Linked DNA regions of Homo sapiens: region 2 is linked to region 1. The links are contacts of gene promoters, found by promoter capture Hi-C in human tissues and cell types (Jung and others, 2019). All regions are on one chromosome and are shown on one strand. The core of a region is centred on a gene start or on the middle of the fragment in contact, and the rest is flanking DNA. Distances in the headings are between cores, read along the strand shown. Region 1 holds the start of SMO (smoothened, frizzled class receptor). Region 2 overlaps TNPO3 (transportin 3).

Region 1 (4,834 bases), core at 981-3,480:
TACCTGAGACTGGTCAGGTGCAGTGGCTCACACCTGTAATCACAGCACTTTGGAAGGCTGAGGTGGGTGGATCACTTGAGGTCAGGAATTTGAGACCAGCCGGGGCAACATGGTGAAACCTCGTCTCTACTAAAAATACAAAAATTAGCCTGGCGTGGTGGCATGTGCCTGTAATCCCAGCTACTCAGGAGGCTGAGGCAGGATAATCATTTGAACCTGGGAGGTGGAGGTTGAGGTGAGCCGAGATCACACTGCTGTGCTCTGAGATCACACCACTGTGCTCCAGCCTGGGCGACAGAGCGTGACTCCGTCTGAAAAAAAAAAAAAATACCTCAGACTGGGTAATTTATAAAGAAAAGAAGTTTAATTGGGTCACAGTTCAGCAGGCTATACAGGAATCATAGCAGCTTCTGCTCCTGGAGAAGCCTCAGGAAACTTCTAATCATGGTGGAAGGCAAAGGGGGAGCGAGACATCTTACATGGCAGGAGCAGGAGGAAGAAGCGGGGAGGTGCCAAACCCTTTAAACAATCCTCGTGAGAACTCACTCATTATCGTGAGAGCAGCACGAGGAGGATGGTGCTAAACCATTCATGAGAAACTGCCTCCGTGATCCAGTTACCTCCCACCAGGCCTCACCTCCAACACTGAGGATTACAATTCAACATGAGATTGGGTGGGGATGCAGATCCAAACCATATCACCTAATATTAACCAGTAAAGATTAATATCATTCCCCTAGTCAAAACTTTGAGATTTCCTTACTATCAAGAGAATTGACCCTTAATTCTGTGTGTTATTTGAGGCTTCTTACCAATCAGTTTCCCTACTTATCTATGTCCTTATTCTAACTCCTCCTACTCACACTTTAGTCCTGGATTCAAAACCCACCTCCTCCACTTCTATCCACACTGACCTCTGTCCCCTATTCCTATAGCATACTCACGGTACATCTCATTTTGGCAGCTTATTTATCAAGTGATTACTATGTATGCTCAAGTGAACTAGATGTTTTGTGAACACTAAGAGAATGAGATAAGGTCCCTGACCTGAAGGAGGGAACGTTGCTGTTCTGTCATGCTATGTTTCCTGAGAGCAAGCCATGTATCCACAGGAAAATGGAAGTCTACAGGTTCCTCCAGGATGTCTCTGTGCTATGTACATGCTGGAATTTCAGAAAGACTTGCTAAATTGAATTAAATTCTCTCTCTCTCTCCAATTGATATAGTTGAAGTGCAATAACTAATATGCACTTAAACTGTCCAAAGTAACAGAACTAGTCCACTACCGCTAGGCCATGAGCAAGTCTTCCAGGGGTAAGAAAGGAAAACCCACCCTGGTGTGCAGCCCGATCAGCAACAAGGAAAAAGTTGCTCAGTGCAAGTCTACTCTCCTGTTTGGAGCCTTGTGGTTATGCTGGGTTATACTTGGTTGTGCAGGTGTAAACTGCTGAAGTGGGAAATTAAGTGTGGTGACCAAAAGTGTGATGCTCAAAGGAGTGAGGAAAGGCAAAATGAGCAGAGTGGGGAAGAGGAGCAGCAGAAACCTCCCAGAGCAGATGAGCAGCAGGGCCATCAAAGAAGGACTGGTTTCCTTCTCACATAACCAAGGCCAGTCCCTGGGAACCACAGTTCAGACTTCACATATTTGTAGCAGTAAAGGCTTGATGTTGGCAAGTTTATTTCCCAGACACCTGTTCCCGCAGGTAACAGCAGCCAGAGCAGCTGCCGTGAGTGACTCTGAGGTCGTCTCTCTCAAAGGTCCCGAGCTGGAAGGATTTGGAGAAGCGCAAACCCCAAACCCAGGTTCTTCTCCATGGGGCCCCGGGATACGTTGGAAAATCTAACCAAAGCAGGAAAAACTGGCGGGCCTGGAGAACGGGGCAGAGATGGAACAGAAGTCCCCGTTGACTTCAGGCATCCCCTGTCTTTCCCATCCTGAGCCAGGAGAAAAGTCCGCTTCCTGCAGACGACCTCAGACCAAGCAAGGTGCCCGCCGAGTCTCTCCTTGCAGGTCCGGCCCACGATTTCCACTCATCTCTTTCCCCCGGGCGCGGGGCGGCGGCAGGCGGGGTCACCAGATCCCCCTAGCCCGGGCCCCTCCAGGCGCCAGGGACGCTGACGCTCGCGCTCTTCCTCTCTCGCCTCCCCTCCCCACCTCTCCGCTCCTTCGTCCAGTCCCTCCCCCAGCCTCGGCGCAGGGGGGCCGGGCTTGGCTCCGCGAGGCCCGTGCATTCCAGAGAGCCCAGCGAGCTAGAGCAACAAAGGAGCCGGGTCGCCGGCGGGGAGAGTTCGGGGGGCTGCGGCGCGCTGGGGCGAAGGTGGCTGCTGGGCCGCGGGCTGGCGCGGGGGCGGAGCCGGAGCTGCACTCGCACCCCCGGCCCGCGTCTGGCCTCCCTCGCGGGGCGGGGAGGTGGCTTTAATGGTGGGAGAGGGAATGGGGCTGGGGATTGGGGGCCCAGGGGTCTCCTAGGGCTGAAGACAACTTGGATTGCGAGGCTAGGGCTTGGGGAGTCGTGCATCCCGTTCCGGGCCTCCGCAGCCCAACATGGGCCCCGGGTTCCAAAGTTTGCGAAGTTGGGCGCCGAGGGGCCGGGGCGCGCGGAGCGTCCGGGGGGGCCCGGGCCCGGATTCTCTGGGCGCACAGGTCGCCTGAGCCGCCTCCGCGGCCGCCGAGGTCGTGCGTGTGGCCGGGGGGCTCCGAGGAGCAGGCGGGGGCGCCGGGGCTTTTGCTGAGTTGGCGGGGTTGGCCATGGCCGCTGCCCGCCCAGCGCGGGGGCCGGAGCTCCCGCTCCTGGGGCTGCTGCTGCTGCTGCTGCTGGGGGACCCGGGCCGGGGGGCGGCCTCGAGCGGGAACGCGACCGGGCCTGGGCCTCGGAGCGCGGGCGGGAGCGCGAGGAGGAGCGCGGCGGTGACTGGCCCTCCGCCGCCGCTGAGCCACTGCGGCCGGGCTGCCCCCTGCGAGCCGCTGCGCTACAACGTGTGCCTGGGCTCGGTGCTGCCCTACGGGGCCACCTCCACACTGCTGGCCGGAGACTCGGACTCCCAGGAGGAAGCGCACGGCAAGCTCGTGCTCTGGTCGGGTAAGTGCGGCGGAGCCGGGTCTGGGGGGCGGGAGGTGCCGCGGTAAGATGGGGGCACCCTTGGAAAGAACAGGCTCAGGCCTGAGTTTTGGAGAGGGCGGGGACAGCACCCGGGAGAGTTGGAGGGACAGATCCCGAAACTTTGGGGGCAGGTTACGTGCAGGATGGGACCCTCGGTCATGGGAAAAGGAGGGCAAGGAAGTTGACGAAGCGGGTCACAAAGGGCCTGAGCTGGTGGGTGAGCAAAGGATGGCGGGGATGAGGGGCCCGTGAGGAGGTGGCTCTAAGCCACGGGAAAAGACATTTTGTAAGAAGAGGAGATGCTCCACCTATTCTGGAAGCAGGGTGCCGGGGGATTCAAGGAGGTGTTGAAGACCCTGGGGAAATTGGAGTTGGAGAGGAAAAGGGGAGGGATGACGGAGGAAGAGGTTTAGACATTTGGAGGGAAGGGTAGGGGGACATGATCGAGTGAAGTTTTGAAGGAAAAGAAACCTCCCTAGTGATGAATTATTAAAAGGTAACCAGAAAGTTCTGGAAATCTTGATTTGGGAGACAGGAATGAAGCCTAGAGAACTGTGATCTTGTCTGGCTTTCACGGGAGATTTCATTCAGTTTGTGCATCTGAAAAACCGGCCCTCTGACGCATGCAGGAGGTTATGAAGGAATAAGACCTTTCTAACAGTTATTTGTGTTTTCTTTGGAAATTTGGTTACCGAGGCTGGTCAGGGCTGTGGAAGGACGCTTAAGTCTGGAGTGTTGAGAGCCTGTGGACACTTCCATGGTGGTTTGAAGTCCCAAAGCCCCCTCACTGGAGTGGCAGAGTCTGAAAAACTGCACACTGAACCCAAATGTCCTTCCTTAGCAGTGTGGAGTATACTCTCCCCCACCTGTCACTTTTCTAGATGAGGCTTGGAGGGTGCTGAGGAAGGGAGCTGGCCTTATCAGCCCTCGCTTCTAGCCAGTATGATTCTAAAACTGTCCTGGGAAAAAGAAAAGAAAACCAGGAGCCAGGAGCAGAACTGGGAGCCTCCCTCTTTTGACAGGGCTGGGGTACCCCATCTCTTAGCTCTGCCCAGGGGGCTGGTGAGGACCCTAATGTAGGGAGTGTATGTAGGCCGCCTGTCATTGACAAGTTCTCGGCCTTTGTCAGATGTTGGACAAGGCCATAAGGTTCCTGGCTTGGTGCAGATGCTGGAGGAGGAACTTGGAGGATGGTATCCATGGTACCCATGAGGAAGAGCTGCATCCTTTTTGGGGATCAGGTTCTAAAGTCAGCACAGCACATTAGACAGAAATCATGTGTAAACAACAGTGGCTTTGAAAACTCTGCAGATTACCATAGTGTAAGGTGGATGTGGTTTTGCATATACACTTCTTTTACGATGTTTGCATACATGTGTTACATGTATACTCATATATAAGAATGGGTATACATAGAAGATAAAATAATTGTAATTTTAAAGTTACATTCATGCAAAAGACTGAAATAATAATAATAATAATAAAAAGAACACCAAAGTGAGATTAAGCAAGATTGCTTTGAGCACCACCCAAAATGAGACTTGAGTTTAGGAGCCAGCTGTGTGGAAAGTCCAAATCTCTCAGCACTAGAATCTCACCCAGTTCTGAGTTGCTCATGCTGTCAGAGGATAATCTTTCTGTCCCTCTCTTTATTGATTGTGCAAGGACCCATGGTTTAATTTTCCCAAGTTAAATGCATGTTTGATGTTGCCTCTGTGTAGTTACCATCAGAT
Region 2 (4,834 bases), core at 994-3,493, 230 kb before region 1:
GTCTATCAGGTACCAAAGGCTGCTTCCATAGCTAGTCTAGCTGAACCATTTCCGAGCTACAAGGCAGTGAATGAAAGTAAAAACAAAGAAACACTGGTTAAATTTTAAAAATTTATTCTTTCTCTTTTGTTGCTGTTGATTTGTTCTTGAGATGGCTACAACACCAGACAGAACAGTGCCCTCATATCTGATGGCTGTGAAGGGCTGCACTCCTTTGAAACATTAAGATCTGCTTTGGGCTTCCCTCTTCGGCCTCACCCTCCCCTTAAAATCAAGTCATTTCCACACTTTTTAGTAACATACTAAATGACACATCATCCCTTGTTAGCCCTGTAAACATTTTTTCTCCACACACCCTCCCTCTTTTTTTCTCTCATGTCTGTGGGTGAATAATTCACTAAGAAAAAAACCTTAAAAAACAAAAACTTACACATTTATATCCTGCACTCCCCACCCACCCGCCCACCCCAGTTTTGGCTCTTCTCTCCAAGGCAGACAACAAACTGATGTGGATTGGAAGTGGACTGAGAGAATGAACGGGGTCAGGGTTCAGATATCCATAAATTCTGACCCTGGCAGGTCCCGAGCATCACCAATGTGACCACGATAGAAAGCAGAACAAGTTCCTTGCTTACTCCTCCTTGTCTAAACAACTCTAAAGGTGGGAAGAAACAGCTGGGGAAGGTAGAAGAAATTTCTACTCATTTGCATTTAAAAGGAGGGGAGAGAGAAAGAGAAGGAAGGGTAGGAGAGGAAAGAGAGGACAAAACAATAGAAAACCTGAACAAATGACCCTGACCCTCTTCTTCCAATTGCAGCTATTTAATTCATGTGAATCCCCACATTATCCCTAAGTAAATATTTTGTTTCACAGAAAGCTTGTCCTTTTGTTTTTCTGTGTACACGTGCGCACTGGCGCTTGTGCGTGTATGTGTGTGTGCGTGCATGTGTCATTTGCTACCAGGTGAATGTTTCAGTTCTGGTTTCTGTTTAGTCTTCCTTTTTTTTCTTTTTTCTTTACTTAAAATTATTTTTCCTTTTAGAAAGTTCACCAGGAAACCAGCTCCCCTCCCACCACGCCGGGCAGGCCACAGCCATCTTTTTAAAATCCGCGCTGATTTTCCCTCACACCCCCAAACAGGAACTCCTCAGGATGGCCTCAGAAGGCTGGAGTCTCTCCCTGTCTGGCGGGACACCCTGGTGGCGGTGAAGGCCCCTCTGCCACAACGGAGGTTTCTGATTGTGGGACACAGTCTGGTTTTTGTTTTCTTCCTGTCTTCTAATTAAAAAAGACATTCCTGACAAAAGAGATAAGACAGTCAATAACTGCACCAGAAAATAGAGCATTTAGTAAAATCAACCTTAAGGCAGAGGTTTCTATATTTCCTCAGGTACCTCATTCTGAAGTCTGCCAATAAGAACTCAGAAAAAATAAACAAATAAATAAAAGTCTGGCGTTTTAACTTGTGGGTTCAAGGGAGCTACTGCTTTAATGAGACACCGTCTGCAGTGTGCTTCCAATGCTGAGTGTGCTGTGGAAACAAGGGATGATGTGTCAGGAGGGCAAAGAGCCAGCAGGTCCAGGCCTCCCATTCCAAAGCAACCAGGGAAGCTTTGCCTCAGTCTGCTAAATCCCACAGGCTTCATGTCGATTTTATTTTGAAAGAAGGCTTTGCCTACTAATAACAGTTGAAAACAAAACAAAACAAAACACCAATTTAGATGCTATCGAAAGGATACTGTATTAAGCGGAGTGGTTCAAAGTGAGGACTCTGGTACCAGAATATCTACATGTGAATTCTGGCTCCACGAATAACTGTCAGGCAAATTGTTAAACATTGTTGAACCTCAATTTCCTCATTTGTAAAATGGGAAAAATAGTAACAAATCCAGAAAAGCAGATGAGGATTATCTTAGTTAATACATCTAAAACACTTAAAACAGTGCCCTGACACACAGTAAGGGCACAATAAAAGTTAACCATGAACACCTACAGCTGTCCATGAGCAACCTTATGAGGTGTATCAATGTCAGCTAACCCAGACACCATGCAAAACCAGGACATCCCAAATGATATTATTACTCATTAAAACAATCAAAGTTGAGAAATGATTTTGGGTGTGGCAAGGCACTGCTGAACATCACTTTTACCTATGAATGCATTTAACACAGAAACTACCAGTGAGTGCTACAGATTCATCAAGAATTGCCTCCTGGGAGAAGAAACTCACCTTGAGACATCAAAGGGTGGGCTTAGAGGAGAGCTACCTTTCTTCTCTCCATCAAGAAACTGGCACCCAAATTCTACTACCCACTCCTTTCAGCTAAGCTTCTTGCTTTGCTTCAGAACCAGGAGACGGAAAGCACGTGGAGAAAAGTGCTCATCGGGAGCCAAAGATGCTCCTCCTCTCCTGTAAGGGCCAAGCATCCCTAACAGCTGAAACTTTTTGAACGCTGATATGACCCTCAAGCGAATGAGCATTGGAGCATTTTGGATTTTGGATTTTTGGATTAGGAATGCTCAACTGGTGTGCATTCTGCAAATATTCCAAAATCCCAAAAAATCCAAAATTGAAAAACACTTCTGAAAGTGTTTTTTCCTCCGAAATCCCAAGCATTTCGGATAAGGGATATTCAATTCATACCTCCTGCCCTGGTCAAAACCTGGCACTTCAGCATTCAGGTCATAAAAGTGATAAGAATAAGCTCTTTGCTCATTACATCTGGAGGGTCAGTTTTAGGAGACTGGCACCACATATAACAGTCAACTTGAGGTTGTTTTCGCCAAAGTGGCCAGGTTAAAAATACTTATTTGTTTGTTGCCATGTACACTTACCATCTTAGAAGTGTCTGTAAGGGGAAGGGGGAAGAAAATGTTTCAATGCACTGTGTAACAGTTACTTTCTTATGGAGGTGAAAATGGTACCCCAAAGACACTGACAATTACTGGCTGCCCAGGCCCAAGAAAATCCGGGCCCTGTATATTCCAGCTGTTCACCACAGTTAAACTGCTGAGTCCTTCCCTGACTCTAGCTATAAGACTGGTCCCATGATAGGCATTAAAACCTATCCCCATTCCCAGGCATCCCCAACAGTCCGACAGTCCGGACAAAAGCTGGGAACTATGTATCCTCACCTGGGTGACAGGCACAGTGCAGGAGTGTGAGCTATCGAAACAACCTGGTGAAGTCTCGCAAGGCCCAGCAAACTTGTTTACATTCCTCAGCACTAGAAAAGAAAAGGTAGGTTGGTCCTTGACTGAGGAGAAAGACAGAATATGCTGAAAAACAACTGCAACATTGGGGCACACTGAGAACCGTCCCAACTCTGCTAGGAGCTCTCTCCATCGTCTCCTGAGCGATCCTGGCTTCAGATCTTTCTGTAATTCAGGGCAAAAATTATTATATATGAGAAAAGTTATAAGCTTGGTGGTCTTCAAAGGGTGTACTCTGGACACAAACTGCCCGAGTTTGAATCTTGGCTCCACTGTGCCCTTGAACAAGTTACCAATCTTTGTCTCAGTTTCCTCATCTATTAATATTATCTACTTCATAACACTGTTTAGAGGATTAAAATCGTCCACATACAGAGTGCTTATGAAAATAGAGCAGTGAACAAAATAGTATTCAATAAATGTAGGCTGCTACAACAACACTTGGTTGCTACGGCTCTCATAAGTTTCCTCATTCTCTTCCAAAGATAGATTTTGTTTACAAAGGCCGGTCTAGCAACTAAGTCTCCACCAGTCATTGATTTTCTAGTTGAACAGGCTGCTCAGGATTTCCTCCTGTGGGAGGAGGAGGGAGAGAGGAAAGGGTTAAAGCATGTAGAAAGAGAGACAAAGCAGGAGATGCCTATGTGATATGAATAGCCCAATATTCAACTGACCCTGTTTTTTCAAAAGCCCCCCGACCTCCCTTTGTCCAAAACTGTCACCAAGAAACCAGCTGATGCCAGCTTCATTCTACTGTATCTGTCTTCATAACAGTTTTTGCTAAATGAACATAAGGCTAAGCTAAAAGCTAAAGCAGTGGAGAAGGAAGCACTTCCTTTTTTTTTTTTTTTTTTTTTTTGATATGGAGTCTTGCTCATGTCATCCAGGCTGGAGTGCAATGGCACGATCTCAGCTCACTGCAACTTCCGCCTCCCAGGTTCAAGCGATTCTCCTGCCTCAGCCTCCCCAGTAGCTGGGATCACAGGTGCCCACCACCACGCCCGACTATTTTTTTGTATTTTTAGTAGAGATGTGGTTTCACCATGTTGGCCAGGCTGGTCTCGAACTCCTGACCTTGTGATCCGCCCGCCTCGGCCTCACAAAGTGCTGGGATTACAGGCATGAGCCACCGCGCCCAGCCAGGAAGCAATTCTTAATATGCTTGCCTTCCTGTAGCCCTCTCCCTGGCTCAACTAACTCAGATACCAGTGCCTACAGCCAAGGATTCAATGCAGATGAAAACACACTTTCCATCTCATAATGGTTAAACACCAGGGGAGGAAACTGCTCTAAGCGATCCAACAGAAAAGGTGAAAATAGAGCTATCCATTTAGGTTCCTACATCCAGATTTCCCCATCCATTGTAAGTTCTGAAACATCATTAAGAACCTTGACTTAGACTCCATGACTTGATTCAACAGAACATTCTAGAAACTTTCTTCTAGTCTCTCCATCCTAAAAATGTAATGAAAATAAGGCAGGTGGCCAGGCACAGTGGCTCATGCTTGTAATCCCAACACAGGGAGACCCCGTCTCTACAAATAATTTAAAACTTAGCTGGGTGTGGTGGTGCACACCTGTGGTCCCAGCTACTCACGAGGCTAAGGCAGGAGGATAACC

Evidence for each region. The method cuts DNA at HindIII sites, captures the fragments that hold promoters and counts their contacts. A contact is called where the count stands out against the background at its distance.
Region 2: a fragment that was not itself captured here is called in contact with the fragment with the promoter of SMO in region 1 in 2 of the 25 tissues and cell types used here (lymphoblastoid cells and pancreas).

Annotation. Positions count from the first base shown.
Region 1 is chr7:129,186,403-129,191,236 of GRCh38, forward strand. SMO (smoothened, frizzled class receptor) reads left to right here and starts at 2,231. Exons shown (of 12, transcript NM_005631.5): 1 at 2,231-3,080. The coding sequence starts at 2,750. RefSeq lists an enhancer at 1,449-1,538 and silencers at 2,168-2,437, 2,668-2,927. The HindIII fragment of the contact is 17,880 bases long and covers 1-4,834 here.
Region 2 is chr7:128,954,088-128,958,921 of GRCh38, forward strand. It overlaps TNPO3 (transportin 3), which reads right to left. Exons shown (of 23, transcript NM_012470.4): 22 at 3,137-3,228; 23 at 98-1,298. The coding sequence ends at 3,168. Among named protein-coding and RNA genes, the nearest start is that of IRF5, 19 kb to the left of the region's middle. The HindIII fragment of the contact is 3,933 bases long and covers 278-4,210 here.